Regions from separate parts of the Homo sapiens genome. Here all the other regions are linked to region 3. Evidence: promoter capture Hi-C in 16 types of primary human blood cells and fetal thymus (Javierre and others, 2016). All regions are on one chromosome and are shown on one strand. The core of a region is centred on a gene start or on the middle of the fragment in contact, and the rest is flanking DNA. Distances in the headings are between cores, read along the strand shown. Region 1 holds the start of OS9 (OS9 endoplasmic reticulum lectin). Region 2 holds the start of ATP23 (ATP23 metallopeptidase and ATP synthase assembly factor homolog). Region 3 holds the start of BAZ2A (bromodomain adjacent to zinc finger domain 2A).

What was found. Contacts are between HindIII fragments. The CHiCAGO score rates a contact against its expected background, and 5 or more counts as called.
Region 1: a contact is called between the fragment with the promoter of OS9 here and the fragment with the promoter of BAZ2A in region 3, in 2 of 17 cell types (monocytes and non-activated CD4 T cells). The highest score is 7.0, in monocytes.
Region 2: the fragment with the promoter of ATP23 here is called in contact with the fragment with the promoter of BAZ2A in region 3 in 1 of 17 cell types (neutrophils); the score reaches 6.9 in neutrophils.

What each region holds. Positions count from the first base shown.
Region 1 is chr12:57,692,112-57,695,445 of GRCh38, reverse strand. OS9 (OS9 endoplasmic reticulum lectin) reads right to left here and starts at 1,314. Exons shown (of 15, transcript NM_006812.4): 1 at 1,123-1,314; 2 at 520-696. The coding sequence starts at 1,284. RefSeq lists enhancers at 1,074-1,123, 1,111-1,685. The HindIII fragment of the contact is 11,057 bases long and covers 1-3,307 here.
Region 2 is chr12:57,939,529-57,942,846 of GRCh38, reverse strand. ATP23 (ATP23 metallopeptidase and ATP synthase assembly factor homolog) reads right to left here and starts at 1,280. Exons shown (of 6, transcript NM_033276.4): 1 at 959-1,280. The coding sequence starts at 1,145. RefSeq lists enhancers at 1-145, 602-1,411. The HindIII fragment of the contact is 6,393 bases long and covers 1-3,318 here.
Region 3 is chr12:56,628,592-56,632,095 of GRCh38, reverse strand. BAZ2A (bromodomain adjacent to zinc finger domain 2A) reads left to right here and starts at 1,770. Exons shown (of 29, transcript NM_001300905.2): 1 at 1,770-1,971. RefSeq lists enhancers at 1,464-1,533, 1,564-1,613 and a silencer at 1,834-2,183. The HindIII fragment of the contact is 7,835 bases long and covers 1-3,013 here.

The DNA of each region.
Region 1 (3,334 bases), core at 65-2,564, 1.1 Mb before region 3:
AAAATTAAATATTAATTGAACTTCTTGAACATTCCTGGCACTGTTCTGGCCACTGGGAATACAACTGTGAACAAGATTAATTCTTTGACCTCATGGAGTTTACACTCTAATGCGGGGAATCAGACCGAAAATAAACAAACTGATTCAGTAAATATGATTTCAGATCATGAAAAGTGCTACGATGAAAATAAAACAGGATACTGGAGCAGAGTGATAGGGCAGGGGGTGACTTTAGCAAGTAGGCTTAAGGAAGTACTCCTCCTACCCCACGCAGACCCTCAATCTTGCTTTAGCCCTTTTCTGAGATCTTCTATCCTAACCTGCTCCTACGTTCAGCAAAGTGTCATCAGTGGTTGCAGGATTCTTTGCTTCTTTCCTGTCCGTGTAATCTGTCTACTCCTCCAGTGGTCTTCTTAACCACTACAGGTCCCCTAGATCCTGCCTCATTCAGTGGACTCCAGTTCTTGGATGAACTGCTAGTTTCCAAGCCCTCATTCTATCTAACCCAGTCCCTTTCACCTTCAGCAAGCAGGGAGCATCTCTCATTGGGCTCAACAACTCAGGGATCCCAGGCCCTTGGTAAGCAGGTGTTTCCTCCTCCCTTTCACGCTGGAAGTGAATAGCTCCAGCTGGCAGGCGACACTCATAGCGCTGTTTGTACTTAGAGGAGACAATCACCACGTCCGAAGATTGGCTCTGGGAAAGAAGGGAGGGTCGGGGGGCAAGGAAGCAAAGAAAGGCTGGGATCAGGGAGAACAACGAAATCCCTCTTCAAACCCTGGGGAAGAGATCAGTCGAAGACAGAATAAGCCATAAGCCCTCCAGCTGTATTTAGTGGGTGAGAGGAGAGGGCGCTCCCATTTCTCCACGGGGGCGGAGTCCGGGTGTTTCGATCATAAACTGAGACCTGAAGGTTGACAGCGGGAAGCCCCACCTCTCCCAATTCCTGGCCCCCAGAGAATTGGTCTCAGTCTGCGACCCCCAGGGGTCACCGTAAAAGCAATACCTACTCTTCCCGATTCCCCGTAGGCTCCAGCCCCAGACTCCGGAGCTGCCCTTCTTCCTCTATCTCTTACCCGCTTCCTCTTCTGCCCAGACCCTCGCCCCTTATACGCCTCTCACCTGCCCTCCCATGACAGGCAACGGCAGGATCTCGATCCCATAACGCATCTCACTCAGCTCCTCCAGGTTCAGGCTCCCGACACCGCCGGTCAGACTTGCGGGTAACAGGAGTCCCAGAAGCAGCAGTCCTAACAAACTGGACAGCAGCGTTTCCGCCGCCATCTTTCGTTCCCCTTCTTATGCAGAGAATCTGTTTCCGCCCTAAGCCAGGCAGCGGCCTCAACACGCCCATCGGCGCCACATGATTTTATTGGCTGTACGTTCTATCCCTCCCACGTACCCTATTCCTATTTGTAAACGTGGCTCCAAGGTCCTGGGGAGGTGGATCACGACGATTAGAAATATCAATCGCTGTCCGTGATTGGTCAGAGACCAGCCAATCATCGACAAGATCAAACCCCTCCTCGTTCCCCAATTTCAGAGGCGTGGTCTATGCGCTTGGTCCTTTTAAGTTTGCCCTCTGTCTTCGCCCAGCTGTCATGCGCATCTCATTGCTTTTTCAGACGTCTCTTGCATTATATCCTGCCCACCGCCGGGCGGAGTATTGAGGCAGATAGGTAGCGTGCGCAGTGCCGGTGAAAGTTATTAAATGCTTGTTGCAAAACAAACAATTATTATACGGACGCTTACCTCTTTTCATATATACATATTGCTTTGAGGCAATCAGAAAATTTGTGTCAAAACCTTCCTATACGATCCTGCAGTTGACCTCCAGTAAAATGACCTCCAGTAAAAATCCTAGAGAAATAATGCGGGCAGCCAGACGTGGTGGCACGCACCTGTGGTATCAGCTACTCCGGAGGCTGAGGCAGGAGGATCTCCTGAGCCCAGGAGTTCAAGTGCAGCCTGCGCAACACAGCGAAACCCCGTCTCAAATAAGTACGTACATACATACATACATACATACATACATACATACATACATACATGCATACATGGGCTTCCAGTTAAGGTGAAATTATGTATTACTCTCCAGGCCGTAAGAAAGGGAAAGGAGACAACAACAGCAACATTTTGGAAGCTGGAAATCAAACAGAAGAATGTTAACTGGTTTAGCAAACTTGAGAATATTTATTACGAAACAAAGGTAAACAAGAGGCTGATTATACCTTTGGAAAACCCTCTCTGGGGAATCTCACCAGCCAAAACGAAAAATCCCAAAGATACCCTTATCAGAGTTCTCTTAATGATATAGATAACTAGAATGAATTCCACATGTAACACTTTGGCCTACGTGCCCCAGCCCTCATTCCACTTTCCAATCAGCTTTTTAGTGTTCTTACTCTTCAAAATAAATAGCCAGAGATCATTAGACATTTAAGGAAGGACTTTAATATACAAGTAAGAAACAAACAAGAAGGGAAAAGCAAATGAGAGGAAACATAAATTGCAAGGGAGGGGAAAAAACACTAAAAATAAAAAATTTAAAAATAGGCCGGGCACGGTGGCTTACGCCTGTAATCCCAAAACTGTGGGAGTCCGAGACGGGCGGATCACTTGAGGTCAGGAGCTCAAGACCAGCCTGGCTAACGTGGTGAAACCCCGTATCTACTAAAAATACGAAAATTAGCTGGGCATGGTGGCACGCGCCTATAGTTCCAGCTACTCAGGAGGCTGAGGCAGAAGAATTGATTGAACCTGGGAGGCGGAAGTTGCAGTGAGCTGAGATTGCGGCACTGCATTCCAGCCTGGGCCACAGAGCTAGACTCCGTCTGAAACAACAAAGCATTTAAAAATAATCCATCATCAGACTTCTCAAAGAGATATTATAGAGCATTCATAAAATAACAACAGGAAACTACTTGAGAGTAACTACTATTCGGATAAGCAAAAAGAGCTCTTGGAAACTAAAACCATGTTACAGAAATAAAAATTCTATAAAAAGGCTGGGGGATAAAGTTGAAGAAGATCAAATTTGTTCTGCTTTAGGAGAAAACATAAAAATAAAGGATCAGTCCAGAAGGTCTGGACTAAATAAGAGTTCTAAATTAGAGTTCCAGAAAGAGAACAGAGAATCAGAAGAGATCATCAAAAAAACTATTTAAAAGGACTATCCCAAACTGAAGAACAGTCTCCAAATTGAACAGGCACCCTAAGTATCCAGAACAACAAATCAAACCCACACCAAGACACATCATTATAGAATCTCAGAGTACTGGACACAGAGAAAAAAATTCTAAAAGCTTCCAGAGAGAAAGAACAAGTTGCATAT
Region 2 (3,318 bases), core at 31-2,530, 1.3 Mb before region 3:
TCAATGGGCAGTTGTGTCCCTGTTTAACCCACAGCAGTTCTTAACCTTTGTGGGGTCGTTGGCCTCTTTGAGAATATGATGAAGCTATTAACTCTCTCCCCCGACCAAAAAAAAATACACTTTGGGCCGGGCGCAGTGACTCACGCCTGTAATCCCAGCACTTTGGGAGGCCGAGGCAGGCAGATCACGAGGTCAGGAGATCAAGACCATCCTGGCTAACACGGTGAAAACCCGTCTCTACTAAAAATACAAAAAATTAGCAGGGTGTGGTGGCGAGCGCCTGTAGTCCCAGCTACTCGGGAGGCTGAGGCAGGAGAACGGCGTGAACCCAGTAGGCGGAGCTTGCAGTGAGCAAAGATCGCGCCACTGCACCCCAGCCTGGGCGACAGAGCGAGACTCCGTCTCAAAAAAAAAAAAAAAATGCACTTAGGGGCACACACACACACATACACACGATTTCACAGACCATTTCAGGGATTTCTACGCTCTGAAGCCCATTCATGCATGAACCACTTCCAAGGAACGGTAGGTTTGCAAAACTGCTTTTATATTTTTACAGCCTTGGTATGCCTTAATTACATTTTTACATTTTTACAGCCTTTGTGTGCCTTAATTAACCTGGCTGGCACTTTAAAACTTGGCCTCACCCTTACCCTGAAGTCACAGTGTGGCTGCATAACTTATGTAAGAAATCGGAGGATCTGTCACAACAGTGAGTGACAAAAAAGGGCAGACAAATTCATTCCACAAGCCAAAAACAGCGACGAAAAGGGTCTCAGCGCCACCTCTAGTGGGGAAACTGAGCCTCAGGCTCCCAACCCAGCCCCCATGATGCCCAGTCTGTCTAGACTCTGTGCTGAACCTGAAGCCCCTGGCCAGGTGTTGCCCAGGCCCTTCCTCGCCCACCCGGTCTCAGACCCATTCTGTGGAACCACAGCCTCCAGGTCATGGCTCCTACTTGTCTCCAGCGTCTTCAGGAGCCTAAGCTGGCACTTCTGGTTGCTGGTGAAGAAGCTGGAGAAGAACCCTTGCTGGGGATTCCCCTGGGCCAGACGCTCGGGGAAGACCTGGCAAGAGACGTGTTGCTGCTGCAGCTGCTCCCCTGCCGCGGGGCCCCGCCGGCGCTCGTCCGGAGCTCCCGCCATGCCTCCCGCAGACCTCGCCGCTGCTTCCTCCTGGCTCAGGCGGCCAGAGCGAGACTGGGAAAGGTAACCTCCCTCCCGCCAACGCGACCGCCCAGGCCCTCCCTCCGCAGGGAAGAAGGGCAGCCTGGCTGGGCTGAAGACGTTAGGCGGGAGGGGGCTTTGAACCTGACGGGGAGCGCGGGAGGCGGGGCGAGAGGCGAGGGGCGGGGCGAGAGGCGAGGGGCGGGGCGAGGGATGAGGGGCGGGGCGAGGGCATGGGGCGGGGCGCGGGGCCCGATGCTGTTGGGCGGAGCTGGGTCTTGCGACTTCCCTCAAAGGCTGTAACAACCCGGCTGCCGCGGATTTCGCTGCTGCCCTCCCAGTGTGGGTGACATGTCTTTATAAGCGTTGTTCTGCAGCTTCCTGCTGCCTGCTGAGCTCTAAGGGTGTCCCGCCTCCTCGCAGACACTCCTTCCTCACCTCGGGGCGAATATTGGCCACTAACTGCTCTTGTGCCGCCGAAGGTCTCGGCCATCCTCCCACTCCCTGCCTTCTTCCGGGGCAAGCCAGTTGTCATTTCTGGCCCGCCACTTTCCCGACCCCTGCCATCCCTCAGATCCACTCTGCCCAAAGATGCCTCTGGCCATATTGAAAGCAGTGTTTTTCAGAAACGTTTTAAAACTATAAAGAATGACTAGTCACATCAAAATCCTCAAAATGTAGGAACCAACTACATTTTTTCTTCCCACCTGTACCCATTCGTTTACCCTACTCTTCTGCCCCACCCCCCACCAATAACTCCCTGATAACAAAGCGCACCCTGTTTACTTCTACCTCTCAGCCTTAACTCATACTGTCATTTCCATCTTTAAGCTCCTTGCCTCAGCCCCTATGATTGGGGCCCAGGTCAAATCTGCCTACTCCACAGGGCATTCCCAGATACCTTAATCAAAATTAATGTCTCCTGATCTCCCAATGTACAAAGCACTTTGTACCTGTTAATCATTTTCATCGTAGCCTGCCAGGTTTTATCCAATTTGTGTGTTTCTCTTTTCCTACTAAATTATTCCACTCAGCTCACACATTTATTCAGCACCTACTATGATGGGCCAGGCAAGGTGTAAGAGACTGAGGAAACACATGACTAAGAAAATTGCTAAAGATGAAGAGCAGCATGTGGTTTATGTAAGAAACATATCTGAAAAATATAGGCTCAGCAGGCCTTTAGGGTTATGAACAGTGCTTTATGTGTCATAGATGCTCAATATCTAAATTGAGTGGGATGCTAGGATAGTCATTCATCTGGAATATTATAAAAATACAAACAACTCCTATGTACATAGACTATTAAAGCCAGAAGTCAAAAAAAAAGTAACTACTTTTTAATTAAATTCACCTTGGATACATTATTTCCAATCCTCACTACAACCCTGCAAAGTAAGTATTATCTCTAATTTGCAGATAAAGTGGGCTCAGCAAAATTCAATAATTTATCTAGGACCACACAACTAGCTTTCAATCCAGTTATTGAACTAAAACACACATATGGAAAACTAAGCCATTACAATTCAGTGTGATTAGTTTGGAATACTGAAGGCAGGCTAGATATGCCTAGAAATGGACCATAGCCTATATACATTTGAAATACTATTTGGATTTTTTTCATGCTTTCTTTTTTAATACATAGATTCAGGTGGTTTATGTGTAGGTTTATTATACAGATATATTGTGTAGTGGTGAGGTCTGGGCTTCTAGTGTACCCATCACCCAAACAGTGAACATTGTACCCAATAGTTAATTTTTCAACCCTCACCCTTCCCCTCCCACTCTCCCCACTTTTGGAGTCCCCAGTGTCTATTATTCCCCTCTGTATGTCCACGTGCACTCAGTCTTTAGCTTCCACTTATAAGTGAGAACATGGGGTGTTTGATTTTCTGCTTCTGAGTTATTTCACTTAGGATAATGGCCCCCAGCTCCATCCATGTTGCTGCAAAAGACATGATTTCATTATTTTTATGGCTGCATAGTATTCCGTGGTGTATGCATAACCACATTTTCTTTAACCATCTGTTGGTGGACACTTAGGTTAATGGTTGATTCTATGTCTTTGTCTTTTTGTCATAACAATTTCTTCTTTTTTTTTTCTTTTTCAGAGACAGGTTCTTGCTCTGTCACCCAGGCTGGAGTGCAGTGG
Region 3 (3,504 bases), core at 521-3,020:
TGTTGTTTTGACAGGGAGGAGAGAAGGGTTTTGGTTTCCACCTGCCTATTCCCTCCACTGGTAATCTACTTATCTCGAGAGAGGAAGAGAAACCCCCTTAGCCTTCTGTGTCTGTGGCCCACACACTCTGTGAGCCTTTGCTAAAGCTAGCTTCCTTCTTATCCTCTCTGAGCCATTTGTAGTGGGGGGGTGGAGGGGTGGAGTCTTTCCCCAAAATTCAGGAAGAGCCCACCCCTCTGTGGAGTAAGGAAATCCAATGTAGACTGATGGATCTCACCCCCCAACTCTGCCCATTTTTCAGATCTCTTTCCTCCTCAGACCCCCAGAGGAAAACGTATTTGTTGACACCCCAACTTGCCAGAGTTTCATCATCCCCACTCTGTTGCTTTTCCAGAATATTCAGCAGCCTGAGCTTTGCACAGTTTAGGCAACTGTTTCTAGAACTGCATTGCATTGAATTAAATGGGAATTATCTTCAAGGCTGCAAAGTGTTGAGTTGCAAGGAAAGGAAACCTGGTTTCCTTTCTTGTCATATTTTATCCACTGTTTGACATTGAAGAAGTCATTGAACCTCTTTGGGTCTTAATTTCTTCATTTGATGAAGGAGAGAAGGTTGAACTAGAATTTTTTTTTTTTTTTTTTTTTGAGATAGAGTCTCCCTCTGTCACCCAGGCTGGAGTGCAATGGCGCGATCTCAGTTCACTGCAACCTCCACCTCCCAGGTTCAAGCGATTCTCTTGCCTCGGCCTCCTGAGTAGCTGAGATTACAGGGGCACGCCACCACACCCAGCTAATTTTTGTATTTTTAGTAGAGACCGGGTTTCATCATGTTGGTCAGGCTGGTCTTGAACTCCTGACATCATGATCCACCTGCCTCGGCCTCCCAAAGTGCTGGGATTACAGCCGTGAGCCACCGCGTCCGGCCTGAACTAGAAATTCTCTAAGCTCTAACATCATATGACACTGTTCTTCATCCTGGTGCCCTGCAGTGGACATTTTAGGTGACAGCCAAACTCTAGTCCTCTGCTAGATTTTACTTTTCTGAGTTTTCACACAGTTATGTAGCCCTGTCAGAAAAAAATTCCCAGAACCATAGAATGGGTGGACATTTGTGGCATCTTTTTGCTGATTAGTTTTCAGCTTATCCTTTACTTCTCTGACTGCATTTAGGCTACACTCAGGTCTTTGCTGTCTGGTTCCAGAGCCGAACCTTCTTTCCCCCACGCACAGGAATCTTTCCTTTCCGGTGACCAGGGCCCTGCAGATGTCGCCAGGAAAGTGGTGATCCAGGCAGGACCAGGCTGCACTGAAGGGACAGAGGTGAGTGGGTGGCTGACTCTTGCCTCTCCCCATCCCTTTACTGAATCGCGACCTGAGTGACTAACCTTTCTATTTCCACGTTTCCATTACCCTACCTGGGAAATAACTGCCCCCGAAATTCCCCTGACTCTTACCCCTACCAGCCTGTTAGAGAAGTGGCACCTGCCTTTGGGCCTAGACGTTTGGTCTAGTCTTTTAAGTTAACCTTGGGACTGTGGCATGCCTTTCAGTTTGCCCTGTGTGAAGCAGGACCACTGCCTCCATGAGATGCGGGTGCAGAGGGAGCTGCCAGGTGGGCAAGGTGGCCAGAGTTGCAGGAGGCACAGCGGCGCTAGGACCCAGGTCCGGGTCGGAAAGATGGGCTGGCGGGCTTTAGGACCCTGTGGCGGAGGCCGCGTGGGGAGACTCTCTCCCGGCCGAGGCTTCTCCGCCCCCTCCGGCTCCGACTCACTCCTCCCCCGCCGGCCATGTTGGCTCCTCTCGGGCCCCGCGGTTGAGCCGCGTCCCCCTCCCCCTTCCCGAACCCCGGACCCCAGACCCCCTCCCCAGCGGGCGTCTCCACCCGTTCTGGCGCCCGGAGCGCGGCCATGTGAACCGCTTGTACCCCGGGGAGAGACGAGCCCCGAGCCCGGCTGGACGCCGCTGCCTCAGGTTTGTGGGGTCTGTGGCCAGGGGCCTGAGGGGGAGGGAGCCCCGCTTTCATCCGAGGCTTCCCTCGGGGAACAGAAGCTCCAGAGCCGGCTTGAGCCTTGCCGGGGCGGGAAGCCGACGGGAGCTTATTTCCTGCGAGGATCCAACCCGAGGCGAGGGTCTCCTTGCTCTGGGGTCTGGGAGGAGAACAGGGCTGGTGGGGCTGCTGAGGACCCCGGACGGGGCCGCGGGGGCAGGAGGAGCTGTAGGGGCTCCCGGCGACAGTGAGGAGGCGGAGAAGCCGCCTGGCTGGTGGAGATGACTCCTGTGGGGGACTTGGGGTGGAATCCCCGGGAGGGGCTCCACCTCCTCGGGTGGGGGTGGGGATTGCCTGAGCGCGAGGGGTGGGTGAGGGGGTTCCCTTGGCGGGTTAAAACGCTCCGTTTGCGGGGAGCTGGGCGTTTTGACTGTGGTGAGTGGAGGGCGGAAGGGGTTTCCAGGGGTCTGAGGGTGTCTCCCTCGGGGAGCGCACCCATTCTCTTGAGCGTGAAGATCAGGAGAGGGCCTTCCTTGCTGAGGGTGGTGCTGCGCTTGGCTTGGGGCCCTCGCGTCCCGGGAGAATCGCGCACTCCGGGGATGGAGGTTGATAGGGCTTCCGCTGAGGCTTTCCAATTTGAGCTGGGCTGAGGGGCAGAAGGGAAGAATAAAGAGGAATTCCTTTTTCCAAGGAGATTCCTCACTGAGGGGATCCCCGCTTCCGTGGCAGAAAGATGATACCGCATCATCCCTTTCTTTCCCGGTGTTCCCAGTTTTCAGGAGAAGGCAATGTCAATAGCAGTTGTCCTTTGTAGGGTTAATTGGAGTGAGAGATTTGTCTGCTTTGGGGGACGACGGAGGGGATAGCTTTCCACCTCTATCTGTACACAAACAGCCCCTCCCCCAGCCTCCCGCAGGAAGTGGCCGGGAAATGGCAGCTGTGCGTTTGCTGCTGCGTGTCTTGTTGTTTTGAAATGTCCATTTTAATCAGATTTGGTTTCATTTTCTGAAGCCTTCTGGGCAAGCTTGGATCTTGCCAACCATGTGGCCCGAGAGACCTTTCGTTGGACTTTTTTTTTTTTTGTAAACTTGTCAACTGGAAGTAGTCAACTTCAGTTGACTCACGTATCCCAATCCCTTCTCCAGAACATCTCTGTCTTCCTGTCTGGTTTCGTTTTGTTTTCCCTTTAGCTAGAGGTCATAGAGAAGCAAACTCAGTTATCTACCAGCGGGGTACGCTCTATGTAAGTGATGCAAATTCCCTCAGCATAGAGAGCTGTCAGGGAGACTAGAGAGCTTTTGTGGCACGAGTAGCTTCTTGGGGTCCTACTTTAGTATAGTTATTATGACAGTTTCTATATTGCAGAGCACCTGAGCAAGTGAGCTTGTGAAGAAGGGTAGATTCTAAGAAATGGACGAAGAGGAAGGGGTGAGGAAGATTTAACTATTAGATGGATTTGTGTGTCGGGGGTAGGGACTGATTAACAGACTGAGATTGGTGAACTCAGTCCTTGGTGG